Linked DNA regions of Homo sapiens: region 2 is linked to region 1. Evidence: promoter capture Hi-C in 16 types of primary human blood cells and fetal thymus (Javierre and others, 2016). All regions are on one chromosome and are shown on one strand. The core of a region is centred on a gene start or on the middle of the fragment in contact, and the rest is flanking DNA. Distances in the headings are between cores, read along the strand shown.

Region 1 (6,671 bases), core at 2,248-4,747:
AATAGTGTTATAGAATGCTCAGCTCTCAATATGAGGGGTTGTTTGTGGTGAATTGCATAACATATGTCATCTATTTGCTGAAAGAATATGCTGTTTAGCAAACTACCTGCTGAGCAACATAATAAGATTTTTGTACAAGGTACAAATTACTAATTATTGTATTTTATTTTTCTATGATTTCCTAAGAGGCATTATCAGGGTCTTACAGATGGAGTAAGCCTGTTTATTAAAATATCTATTGGCAAATAAAAGTTACAGCTTTGGTGGTTGAATTTGTGACTTTTTTGTATTGTTGTATTTATGCAGATCTAATGCAATTTATTTTTTGGTCTAATAAATCTAGATGCTGTTTAGATAATTTAGTAATTCTGGATGCAAAATCATAGTTGTAAATTTTTTAAATAATGTCATTAGGTTTAGACATAAATTCACAGAAATCACTATAAAAAACTAGTAAATATTTTTGTAGCGATTTTATATTGGAAAATATTTTGTGAGATTCAAGTAAATTAAAGTGTTCATTGCAGAGGCAGTACTGCACAGAAATTGCAGATGAAAAAAGGGTACACATAACATCAACTGTTGAAACACAGCTTTAGACCAAAGTTTACACCAAAAAGTTGCAGTAAGTTATAAATCAGGGATTATCTATATTCTTTTAAAAGTTGCTGGTGAGAAAATAACGCTAAAGTATCCTGAATTAATCAGAACAGTGCTGTGTTCATTATATCTGACTCTTTTCTTTTTTATAATTTTCTTACTACAGTTCTAAAAGCCAGTATGAAATTAAAACTGGTGAGAAGGTACCTAAAATTATCTTCTGTTATGGTTAAGTGGCTTTAAGAAAATCACGTAGCATTTTTAAAGCTTGTTATTGTCATAATAAAAAAGAGTCAAACTAACTTCTTAAATCAAGCGAAACAATTGTATCTCAGCCTCTGAATGTACTCGTGAGAGGAGTTTCAGTTGACAAAGCACCAAAACAGCAGAATCAACCATATGAAATATTTATATGTATTTATTTTTAATAGAGATGGGGTCTCCAACTTCTGGCCTCCGGAGATCCTCCTGCCTTACTTAGCCTCCCAAAGTGGTGGGATTACAGTGTGAGCCAGTGTGCCCAGCCTTTATGTTTTTTGTTTTGTTTTGTTTTTGAGTGCAGGGTCTCACCCTTTTGCCCAGGCCAGAGTGCAATGGCACAATCTCAGCTCACCGCAACCTCTGCCTCCCCGGTTCAAGCGATTCTCCTGCCTCAGCCGCTTGAGTAGCTGGGATTCCAGGAACGTGCCACCACACCCGGCTAATTTTTGTATCTTTAGTGGAGATGGGGTTTCACCATGTTGGCCAGGCTGGTCTTGAATTCCTGACCTGGTGATCCACCTGCTTCAGCCTCCCAAAGTGCTGGGATTACAGGCGTGAGACACCGGGCCTGGCAGCCTTTATGTTTTTTTAAGTTTAATATTTTCAAGGCTAACATTTTTTTCTAGATTATTTTACTGCTTTATTTCATAACATTTATCTCTAGTAATAAGCCATCTATCAACTATACTTATCTAAGATAACGATTTGACTAGCTACATTTTTGTAGAAGAATTATCTATCTGCCTTGTTTTCCTGAAAAGTTGGATGCTCAATATGTCCATTTTATTTCCAGTTTTCACCAAATGTTTTATATTAAGCCAAAAGAGATGAACTCAACCTAGAGGCAGAAAATATCAACTTTTAGCAGGAAAAATTGAGTCTGTCCATGAAAGTTTTCTGAAATATAACATTTCTGCCGATCGCTAAGAAAAAAAAATGTTATATTTTGGCCGCAAGCACATTAGCTTCCATCTCTTACAAGTAAGTCACAACACCCAGGCACACAGAAAAGTGTTCAACACCTCCCTGTCAATGCATTCACGATTAGAAGTTCAGAAGTTAAAGAACCACCATAGTTACGGTTTGGGTCAATTTTGTTTACACAATAAAAAGCTCAAGACAAAAGAAGACAGGACATTATTTATTGAACAATAAATATGTGCCAAACATCTGTATTTCTGTTATCTTTAATACTCAGAACTACCAGATAAGATAAATACTATATTTTTGAAGGTGAGGATAGAAGCACGGAGAAGGGTAAATTGGGCTAAGACCACACAGTAAGAAAGAATGTATTTCCATACTCCATTTTTACAAGGACATTTATATGTTGATATGCATCCATAGGGTCTTTGTTTTGTTTTTGTCTTTCAACAAGAATCACTAATCCAGAGCCGCTTTTGTTTTTTCGCTGTAAAAATGACAATTACATTTGGAAATTTGGAGAAGTGACAAAAGATAAATCACCCCATAATCACACGCTTACAACCGTCCCCCCTACCATATTACTTTGAAATAATTCCTTCTAGTCTCTTTTTGCACCCTCCTAGTCCATTTAATAGGCCAAATGAATTGACAGGCCAAAGAACAGGCAGTGCAGTAAACATACACTAGCTAGTTGAAAAGGGTCGCGCGGTGGGGGGCAGGGGGTCGGAAATCCTACACCCATGCAAACAAAAAAAATGAAGAGATACAAACCCCTATTTGAAGAATGAGGCCATTCGCTGGGGGTGAGGTTAGTGGAGTTGGGCAGATTGAAAGGCTAGATCTTTAAAATGACTGCATCTGTAATGTGTCCGTTGGAAAACGCAGTAATAAAAGATGTGGGGAAGGGTATGCCTAAATATTTTCTATTTGAAGACCATTTGTGACTATGACTATAAAATCCAAGTGCAATTTAAGAAGGTGGTCAACTTTAAGTATTGACTATTAATACCTTTCCTGACCACCTGCCGATTTGATTCTGGAGACTGTAATCTACTCACAGGAGATTATGCCTGGTAGAAATCTCTTCGGGAGACCACACAACTAAGAAGCAGGGGTACAGGCATACTTTATTAGCCGAATAACACCTTTTGACTTTTTACACCAGTTCTCCCCTCTACCTTCCTGTATTAACAGTTTTACCTCTACAGGGACTCAGGGTGGGAGGCCTATCAGAACCCAGAGAAGAGTCGGTGCGATGGGCAACTGGGGAACTCCGGCGCACATCTTGCCCCAGGGGGGACAGTATCGTCTTGCAGTCGTTGCCACAACGCTACGCTGGTGCCCGGTAACGACACTCTCCGCGCCACACCCAGCGCCAGCCTCTTGGATCCCCAGGAAGACCAGGGCCGAGCGACAAACACGCAGCACACGCGAACGCCAAACGCTTCCCAGAAAGCTGTGCGCGAGCCTACAACTCCCATGATGCTACGCCGGGAACTGCCCGGCTCCTCGCAGGAAATAGGCAGCTCACCCTGCCACCTGTGCACACATTTTTCTTCAATGTATAGTTCCTCGGCGCGCCTCTGACCTTTTCCCGGAGCTCTTCAATCCCAGAAGCTATAGCACAACGGCTGAATCGCCAGGACCCCCGGGGAGGCGTGGCTTCAGGACCGGAAGAAGCTCCTGTTGCCAAGGGAACGGTGCCTGCCAAGGCGCCTGCTCAGCGACTGATGCACAGACTGCTGCAGAGGCTGCCGGTTTTCCCAACTTCTAGAGACGGCTTTGCTCATTACCAGGCATCCTTCCCATGTAGGCATCGAGAAGAAGGCTGAGGGACCCTCGCACCAGATTTCCATCCCGGAGACCGATACGAGTGCGTCCATTCCTGTTGCCAGCTCCTGCGCCCTCCGGACTAACCTCAAAAACCAGGTATCTCCTCAACGCCGGTTTTTAAAGCCAGCGCCACCCTCTGTCCCCGTCAGTTTTAGAATTCCTCTTTGGTCTTTCCCATGTTTTTCACTCCACGCGTGTAGTTGTTGCTAATGTATGAGAAGTAGAAAAGAAGGTGAGTTATAGAGGCCCTAGAAAACTTACTAAACTGGTTTGGACGTATGTTTGGTTGATGGGTTTTAACAATGCTCAACTTAGACCCGTGTATTGGGGGTGTGTGTGTGTGTGTGTGTGTGTGTGTGTGTGTGTGTGTAAGTGTAATTTAAATTATATCATAAAAAACTGAAAGCCGAATAAGAATGTTTATTTGGGGTAATAAAAGTAGGCAACATTTCAATCAACAAACACTTTACAGAGTTTACTAAGTATCATTCGTGGTGTTTTCTCTGGGCTACCACTCTGTCTCTGCAGCTTACCCTCTAAGCTGTTAACTGTGGATAACATCCTAATTCTTCTGGACTTCTCTGGCAATATGTAATCCTTTAGGAAACAGTCTGTCAGACAATAACCAAGAGAATTTGGCTGGTGTGCAAAGAGAGGGTTACAGTAAGATAAGAAACAAGAAAGGAAGATTGGAGCCAGATTGTGGACAACCTTAAAAGCTGTGCTTGGAAGTTTGAAACTACTGGCTTTATTCTGAAAGCCAGTAGTTCTCAATAGTAACTTCACATCAGAAACACTGGGTAGCTTTTAAAACTACAGATGCCCTGATCTTATTTTCAAAAATTCGGATTCAGCAATTGATTTCAGAGTGCAGCCAGGGTTGAGAATCATGGCTATCAGAGTAGGAAGCTGCAGAAAACAGTTGTGTCTCTCGCTGCACACTTAAGACACGATTAACAAATATTGACTGGCTTCAATTATCTTTTATTTATGCATGCAGAAAGTCAACTTATGGAAGGAAAATTATAACTACTTGAAACGTAGAAGTTTAAAGGCTCTATGATAGTTGTTTATAAAGCAATTTCAATAAATGTGATTACCTCTTTTAGAAAAACTGCCTGCTCTTCTAAATTGTGTGTCCCAAAATATTTCATTAACAAGTATCAAGTGATAATCCATGGAAAAGTGATGGAAAGTCACAATACAAGGTACTGTGAAAAACGAATATTCAAGCATCAGGCTTTAAACACTCAGTGCTTTATAGTAGATGCTTAAAGGGGGGAAAATGTGAGAAGTTGTCGTTTTTAAAACATAAGTTCTAAATTATGAAATGGAGAACAAGATATAAGCATTTATATCAATATGTTTATGCAGTAAATAAAGTGAGTAATAGCAAATTTACTTTGAAATCAAATGGTATGTGTGAATTGCTTCATGACATCAGAAGGTTAATTTAAAATAGATTTTACAAATGCTGGTCCTTAAGCTGTAATTTAAAGAAATGGACTGAATAAGATTTGAATCTCTGATACAAGGAGAAAAGCAGATTGAAGTGGCACAAATGGAAGTACCTGAGGTCAAACTCATCCTTGGGGAAAGACAAACGTGGTTCTGTAATAGGCCTCACCTTTTGGCATGGCACTGTTCCATCTCTTCTCTGCACATCACTGAAATTTAGTTTTGAAATTTCTACCCATAATCATATCCCAAAAGGCCTAAGCAAAATGTTGACTATGCAACCTCCTTTTAGATACAGTTGTCTTGGAAGCCTGTTATTGATAAAGTTGCTGCAGCCTCACATCCTTCAAGGTATGGCCTTGCCTGAAATTGTATGGAATAAAAAGTATTGAAGAAACTGTAATATGACAGGTTGCTTATGCAACCTTAGATGGAGATGAGAATAAGTCAATTTAATGAGAATAAAAACATTAGAGAACTAATGTTGGTGAGTAATGAGAAATATTTGGTACATAGATATATTGTAGCAGTTCCTGCAGCAGTTGGGGGCTGGAAAAAGGGATCTATCTCCCTGTCCTTCTACCACAAAGTAATGGTTTGGGGAGCAATGGACCCAAAGTGAGCTCCTTTGAAAAGTTTAGTTTGGAGACCTGAAGTGTAAATTTAACAGTACCTTAGATGAATATAAACAGCCATAAAGTTACCACATAGCAAGTTTTATGTACACAGCAGTTTTATTTGACTTCCAAATACTTCTATTTTTGGATTGCTGATAGTTTTTTTTTAAGTTTGCATTAGAAAGAATTTTTTTTTCAAAGAATCAATACAATTGAACAAGAGAAATGAACACTTTAGGGACAAGTTAACAAAGAAATTTTTAAGATACTTAAAAAACTAAATTAAAATCTACAATCAGTATTTACTTCCTTATTCTATACTAATACGATAAAGTCCTTTTAAAATAGCACTTAGGAGGATGTTTCAGATAAGTTACAGTTAAAAAACAGATATTTAGTAAGGTTCAATAAATTGAATGTGTGTATGTATTTATGCATAACCTTCTTCACAAAGGGATTTGTGGTGACTTACAAAGATGTATGTATAGGATAAGGGGAAATAAGGATAAGTATTTCAGGATTCTTTGCTTCTACTGAGAGAAAACCCTACTTAAACTGGAAATAACCAAGCAAGCAAAAAAAAAGTGAATTTATTGTAACTTCATATTATTACAAAATATAACAATGGGGCTGGCTTCTGATAAAGATTTAACAGTGGCTTAAATGATATCACCAAAATCTCAAAATCTGTCTGCTTTTCAGATCTGCCTTCTACTTTCTGCCTTCTACATGAACCCCATTGCCCATTCATTGTTTCAGATTTTCTGGAAAGGCTACGGCCTAATTCTTCCATATTTTCAAGTATCACAATTCGCAGACTCCAAATGATACTGAGGCTGACCATGTTTTATTCTTAAATATGATAAATTACAGAGAGAAATGTTGTTATTTCCAAGGCATTGTTCTGTGTTGCCACCTGTTATAAGCTGCAAATCTGCGTGTCAGTTAAGGCTCCTTTCTGGTAATCAGCTTACA
Region 2 (7,158 bases), core at 680-3,179, 2.1 Mb after region 1:
ATGGCTGGACACAGTGGCTTAGGCCTCTAATACCAACACTTTGGCAGGCTGGAGTGGGAGGACTGCTTGAAGCCAGGTGTTAAAGACCAGCCTGGGCAGCAAAATGAGACGCCATATCTACAAAAAACAAAAACAACAACAAAATAACCAAGAATGGTGGCATGTGCCTGTAGTCCCAGCTACTCGGGAGGCTGAGGCGAGGTGGAATATAATGTAAGACCATTCATAGTTCATGGTACAAAACAGGTATCAATTCCCATTAATGCATAGACACTCCATAATTTAGTATTGCCAGACTTCTTTTTTTTTTTTTTTTTTTTTTTTTTGAGACCGAGTTTCGCTTTTGTCAACCAGGCTGGAGTGTAATGGCACCATCTCGGCTCACCGCAACCTCCACTTCCCGGGTTTAAGCAATTCGCCTACCTCAGACTCTCAAGTAGCTGGAATTACAGGCGCCTGCCACCATGCCCGGCTAATTTTTGTATTTTTAGTAGAGATGGGTTTCGCCATTTTGGCCAGGCTGGTCTGGAATTCTTGACCTCAGGTGATTCACCCACCTCGGCCTCCCAAAGCGTTGGGATTACAGGCTTGAGCCACCGCGCCCGGCCCATACTTCTTAATTTTGTGATTTATTGCCTGAAAAACGGTCTCGCTGTGGTGTTTTTTTTGTATTTCCCAGATTAATAATCAGACTGAATTCTTTTCATGTTTATTAGCCATAGCAACTCCTCTTCCACACTGGCATTTCTTATCTTTTTCAAAAATCTATTAATCACGAAAATCTCGTCATCTACATTTCTTCACAAAAGCCATATTACTTTTGATCTTTATAGATTATTTTACATTTGCCATATTTATACATAATATCTTCCCTTTTGGGGCATTTAGAGTGTGCGGACAAAGTCTAGGCAGTAATGCATTTATAAAACATCTATGAGTTGGGTGCACACGGGGTAATTTTCCACATATGGCTAATCCTAGCCTCATCAGATTAAGTTTCCCTGTCTTGTCATTTCCGAGGATGTATCCTATTAGAAGTCTAGCCCTTTATTCCTACAAATTGAATTTCCACTACTGTAGGCTAACATCTGAATGGACTCATCTTACTATTCCATGCATAGTACCAGGCACGTTGCGTGCTTTTACTACATTTTGTATAATTTTTACGTCTGTGTTTGATGTCCTGAAAAATACCGTCCACAATTACTTCACAGCTAGCCCCAGCACTTGGCGCCCAGCGGGTTTTCCTAGTCCCTCCCTGCCAAATCACGTTGGGACTGAGACAAGAGGCACTGCGGGTCTCTTACCTATAGTTACGAAGCAATGGACTCCCTTATTACTTCGTTTCCCAAATAGGGGGTGGGACACACAACCGAGGGAGTATGAGGAAAACAACTTGCGGGTCTTCGAGCCACTTGCGTCTTTCTGTGGGCGAGCCTTTCCAGGCCAATTACATTTTCTTTACTCATATTGCATAAATAGCAGAACTACATTTACCACAAAGGCCCGACATTCATGGTCATGGATCCTTGCGCATGTTTTCTAAGAGCAAACTGTACAAACACATAAACTCTGAAACACTGACGCACAAGCGAAAACACACGCACATGTTTGGGTCTTCTCCCGCTGCGCAAGTTCTTTGAAACTGAGCGGAGAAAAATCGTCTTCACATGGTGTCTCACACTTTCGACACAATCTTATCGGGAAACGTAACACGTAAACAAAATTTTTTAAAATGCATTATCAAAAACGATGACAATCCCTTTCGTCTTATGTTCCTTTTTGTCTTTAAGCTTTGGGGGGATTTATGTTGCGTTTCCAAACTGCTTCTGCCTGTCGGCGCCTGTGTGGAAACTGCGACGAGTCTGGGAGCGGCTGCCGGAGAGGCGGGGCAGAGGTGTGACGTCATCGCCGCGGGGCGGAGGCGACAGTGTCTAGCGGGAGCTCCGCGTGTAGCTACGCCGGCCGCCTGGCTTTGAGACAACGTGATTCTCCGCAGCTGGTCGCCTACCCGTGATGTTCTGCCCACGTCGAGACCTGAGCTGAAATGGCAGACGATCTCGGAGACGAGTGGTGGGAGAACCAGCCGACTGGAGCAGGCAGCAGCCCAGGTACCCACTCTGTGCCCGCGCTCCTACGGGGCCTCTCCCGGAGCCCTTCCGTGCGCCTCAGCCCTGGTCGCTTCTGGCGATCGCGGTGTTTGCCCAGCAGGGGTGTGCACCGCCTTGGGAGCGCGCAAGCATCTCGGGGAAAATGGTGCAAGAGATTCTTTAACACGTGAAACAGACAGCTGTGACATTAACTCAGATCTGTCTGCCAGCCAGGAAGGATCCTTTCCACAAGCTTTCTCTTTTCCTTATTTCTTGAGAATGGATAAGACAGTTTTTGTGAAGAGAGGCAACTTTGTATGATGGTTAAGGGTGACCCATGAACTGCTTTCAATTCAGACTGAGGTCAGAAGCAGGGGTTGCTGCTTCAGACTCCCTCCATTCAAATCACGACTCCAGTATTCTGATACTGTTTAGCCTCCTTTTCCTCATCTGTAAAATAATGATAACAATAATGTCCATTTCGTAAAGTTGTGAAGATTAAGTGAAGTTAGTACAGTAATGCACTTTAGCATAGTGCTTGACATATAATGTGTGGTAAATATAAGTTACTGTATTTCTTGTGGTCATCATCATTATCATGGAATTTGGAATAGTAGAACTGGAAGGAGGCTTAAATAGAGATCATCCTTTGAACTCACTTATTTTACAGATGAGAAACATAACCTAAAGATGTCAAGTAACTTGACAAGTTCACAAAGCTAGCTCCTTTCAGAAACAATACTAGAATTCAGTTAACACAATTTGAATAGTTTCTACTATGCTCTGCTGTGTTTACCAACTCCTGATGCAGTGGGCATTTCATCCCCAAGTAGAGTAGCGTTAAGTGACCCCCCATGTCAGGCTAGCCTTGAACTTTTTAAGTTCCATCACACCTACCATGCAATTATTGGTTGGTTGGTTTTTATCACTCCTCAAGGTCTGCCTCTTTTCTCTACAAGAGAAGACAGGGCCAAAGTCAGATTCATACTTCTGTCATCCACAGGGCCCTGCACATGTTAGACACTTGATACCTATTTGCTGCAAACAATCTTGAAATACTAGTTGTGAAATATCCATTAAAAATAACCAACTTCATTTGTTGCATTGTTTCCGGAAGGTCAAGCCTTCAGGTACAAACTAAGCAGATGTCATTTTTAGAAAGGTAGCCAATACAACATTTCCTTGATTAAACTTCCTGACTCTTTTGCAGCCCTGTGGTGTTCCACATTTACTTTAATAACTACCCCTCCCAACTCAGGTGTTAAAAAGCTCTATTTTATGATATGATTGAAGATGAACAGAGGCCATTTAAGAAATAGTTGAATTCTGTTTGAGTGGTGAAGGGGATCCCAATTCTTGGTTCTAGTCCTCACTAGCTGTGTGACTTTCAAGTTATTCATCCGTTGGAAGAAAGGCAGTCAACATGTATTGAGTATCTATTATGTGACAAATGTCTTCATAAATATGAATTGATTTAACTTTCATAACATCCCGAAAAGGTAAGTATTCTCTTCATTTGTATAGGTGAAGAAACAGAAAAAAGTTAAGTCGTGTTCTTAGGAACACACATTGAAGAAGAGGTCTGGGAAGAGTTTAGTCAAGTGTGATTGATTTTGAAAGTCACGCTTTTCCCGCTACTACTTTGTGACTTCTCTGGGCCTTTGTATCATAATCTGTAAAGAGCCCTTAAAGATCATCTTTTTTAGGGTTTTACCAACCAACAGTTTTTTTTTTCTTTTTTTTTTTTTTTGACACGGAGTCTCCCTCTGTCGCCCAGGCTGGAGTGCAGTGGCACGATCTCGGCTCACTGCAACCTCTGCCTCCTGGGTTCAAGCGATTCTCCTGCCTCAGCCTCCCAAGTAACTGGGATTACAGGTGCCCGCCACCACACCCAGCTAATTTTTGTATTTTTAGTAGAGACGGGGTTTCACCATGTTGGCCAGGCTGGTCTTGATCTCTTGACCTCGTGATCTGCCCACCTCGGCCTCCCAAAGTGCTGGGATTACAGGCGTGAGCCACCGTGCCTGGCCCCCAACAGTTTTAAACACTGAATCTAGTAAAACTTTAAATCGCTACAGCCTCCTTCATCTAAGTTGCCAGAATTCTCATGAAGACAGTGTGTTGGAGTGCCTAAGATTGCTCTACTTCTTACATTCCTTCTAGCCATAAGACTAACCCTTTTTTTTTTTTTGAGACGAAGTCTCACTCTTGTCCCCCAGTCTGGAGTACAGTGGTGCGATCTCAGTTCACTGCAACCTCCACCTCCTGGGTTCAAGCGATTCTCCTGCCTCAGCCTCCCGAGTAGTTGGGATTACAGGAGCCTGCCACCACCCCCAGCTAATTTTTGTATTTTTAGTAGAGATGGGGTTTCACCATGTTGGCCAGGCTGGTCTTGAGCTCCTGACCTGAAGTGATCTGCTCGCCTTGGCCTCCCAAAGTGCTGGGATTACAGGTGTGAATCACCGCACCCGGCCAAGACTAAGCTTTGAAAATTGCTGGCATTAAATTTATCAGAGGCCTTTGCTTTGTTCGCTGCTCTTAAGCAAAGTAAGTATATGCCTTTATTTGAAATATCCTTGATTATTCACTGGCAATTTGCCTAATTGTAATCTGTACAGCGTTTCTAATTCAAAAGAAATCACAGCTGAACCACAGATTTCCTGATTCTTCTTTTGTTGATGGGATCTAGCCTTGATCCTAGAGCACAAGGCTTACTTACCTGGCTGCCTTCTTGAAGTCTTTACTTAAGTTATTTGATAGGGATGTCAAATGTATTCAATTGTTGTTTCAGCCTAAAGTATGTGAATTATGTTTTGTTTTGAAAGTTGAAGGAGAAATAATATGTTAAATCAGAGAAAGGAAAGATAGTTGTATTGGTGCTTTTATTCCTGTTGTGGATTATGCTACCTGCCTATAAAAATAAACATTTTTGCTATAATCTGTTCCCACTTGACATCCATGGTAGCAAGGCAGTGGAAGATTTCAGTCACTTACAAATACTTGTTGGTTGTACATGGTTTATAACATCTATCTAATGTGCCTATCTGTTTGTTGTCTGTCTAAGGAACTGTACTATTTTTTGGCTGTTATCATGTCTTCTTAGATGTGGTATGTAACAAAGTTTTCATGGCTCTTTAAAACCTGTCATTTTTGTGCTAGAGTTCTACATTGCACTGGAGCTCAACATGGGACCTGGCACTTAATTGGTGTTTGGTGGATGTTGGCAGAATAAATATATGTGTGTATGCGTGTTACCTGCTACAGAGTATGTAGGCAGACATATAATTTCTCATCCAATCTAGACACTTTTGTGAGTGGAAGGCTATGCAATTAGAATTTTGCAGGGACTCTCCTGGTCCTTAAGGGATGTCTAGTCACTCCATTGGTGGCAATTGGAGTCATGGCCCAACATAAGACAGCTGGGAGTTACAGTGCTGAGTGTGCAGCCCAGGATGCCTTAGGCATAAGACCCCAGGAATCATCTAATGGCATCTAATATTTGATTTATTTCCTTATTCCCTGTAAACCTTCAGCAACTGTTTGAAGTGACTTATAGTAAGTAATACATTCAGTAGAATAATGATGTGAAAATATTAATGCTGAAATGAGCAAACACAATGCCTGAGATTTTAATGTAGTTGACCGGTCTGGGTACTTTCTCAGTGTGAAGCTGAAAACTGAGAGAATGTCAATCACAGCATGGATTTCGTGACTTAAGGAAGAGAGCCAAGGGATTCTGCAGTTGAAAATGTCACTTGAGGGCCTGTAATCCCAGCACTTTGGGAGGCCAAGGTGGGCAGATCACCTGAGTCCAGGAGTTTGAGACCAGCCTGGCCAACATGGAGAAAACCTGTCTCTACTAAAAAGACAAAAATTAGCCAGGTGTGGTAGCAGGCACTTGTAGTCCCAGCTACTCAGGAGGCTGAGGCAGGAGTATTGCTTGAACCCAGGAGGTGGAGCTTGCGACGAGCCAAGATCGCACCACTGCACTCCAGCCTGTGCTACAGACTGAGACTCTGTCTCAAAAAAAAGAAAAAAGAAAATGTTACTTGATCATTTACTCACTGAAGATGAAGAGAATACTAATTGCTTTCCCTTTTTATTTCAATGACATACCTATTAAATTACCAAGTCGAGTACCCAGTAGGCAGCTAAGTATGTGAGTCTGGAGCCCCAGGGCCAGATCCAGGCTGAGATACAGATTTAGGAATAACTGGCATACAGATAGGTTATTTTTAAAGAGCATGTTCTTAGCAGTCTGTAACATTGAGCCTCCATGTCTTTTAAGGAGGGTCTTTCATATGCCTCCCCAACTCATTCTGAATCTTTGATGACATCTCTTCCCAAGCACCTAACTAGAAAACTGAAGTGTTAAGACACTGCTATGTACAGTGCCAGGAGACTGCAGGTAATAATACCAGCTTGCGGCCAGGCGCAGTGGCTCACGCCTGTAGTCCCTACACTTTGGGAGGCTGAGGCAGGTGGATCACCTGAGGTCAGGAGTTTGAGAACAGCCTGGCCAATGTGATGAAACCCTGTCTCTACTAAAACTACAAAAAATTAGCTGGGCGTGGTGGCACGCACCTGTAATCCCAGCTACTCAGGAGACTGAGGCAGGAGAATTGCTTGAACCCAGGAGGCGGGGGTTGCAGTGAGCCGAGGTCGTGCCACTGCACTCCAGCCTGGGCAATAAGAACAAAACTCCATCTCAAAATAATAATGATAATAATAATAATAGTAATAATACCAGCTTGCATTTGTTGAGCACTTAACTACCTGCCAGATGCTGTTTTGATTGCTTTACATGTTCTAGTTAATTTAATCTTCCCAAGTACACCAGCGGTAGTTACTGTTGTTATCTTTATTTTACTGATGAGGAAGTTGAGACACTGAGAAATTAAGTGATTTACTTAATACTATTTAATTTAATTCACCCAATACTATCTATTTAATTGGTAAATAGGGGAGCTGTGATTCATATGCAGGCAGTCTGAAACCAGAGCCTGTGTGCTTATATTTCGCATTCTCATTATCAGTGGTAAGAATCTCATCTCTAAAGGAATAATCT

Evidence for each region. The method cuts DNA at HindIII sites, captures the fragments that hold promoters and counts their contacts. A CHiCAGO score of 5 or more calls a contact.
Region 2: the fragment with the promoter of CMSS1 here is called in contact with the fragment with the promoter of ARL6 in region 1 in 2 of 17 cell types (non-activated CD4 T cells and naive CD4 T cells); the score reaches 7.6 in non-activated CD4 T cells.

Annotation. Positions count from the first base shown.
Region 1 is chr3:97,761,261-97,767,931 of GRCh38, forward strand. It overlaps ARL6 (ARF like GTPase 6), which reads left to right and starts at 3,498. Exons shown (of 8, transcript NM_001278293.3): 1 at 3,498-3,717. It overlaps EPHA6 (EPH receptor A6), which reads left to right. Exons shown (of 18, transcript NM_001080448.3): 18 at 1-272. RefSeq lists enhancers at 2,829-3,330, 2,966-3,505, 3,331-3,830, 3,546-3,655. The HindIII fragment of the contact is 6,880 bases long and covers 866-6,671 here.
Region 2 is chr3:99,815,933-99,823,090 of GRCh38, forward strand. It overlaps CMSS1 (cms1 ribosomal small subunit homolog), which reads left to right and starts at 1,930. Exons shown (of 10, transcript NM_032359.4): 1 at 1,930-2,111. The coding sequence starts at 2,048. It overlaps HP09053 (a long non-coding RNA gene), which reads right to left. Exons shown (of 3, transcript NR_110821.1): 2 at 2,988-3,042; 3 at 700-2,540. LOC105374010 (a long non-coding RNA gene) reads left to right here and starts at 1,930. Exons shown (of 5, transcript NR_189163.1): 1 at 1,930-2,111. RefSeq lists a silencer at 1,611-2,365 and enhancers at 1,781-2,655, 1,887-2,196. The HindIII fragment of the contact is 550 bases long and covers 1,792-2,341 here.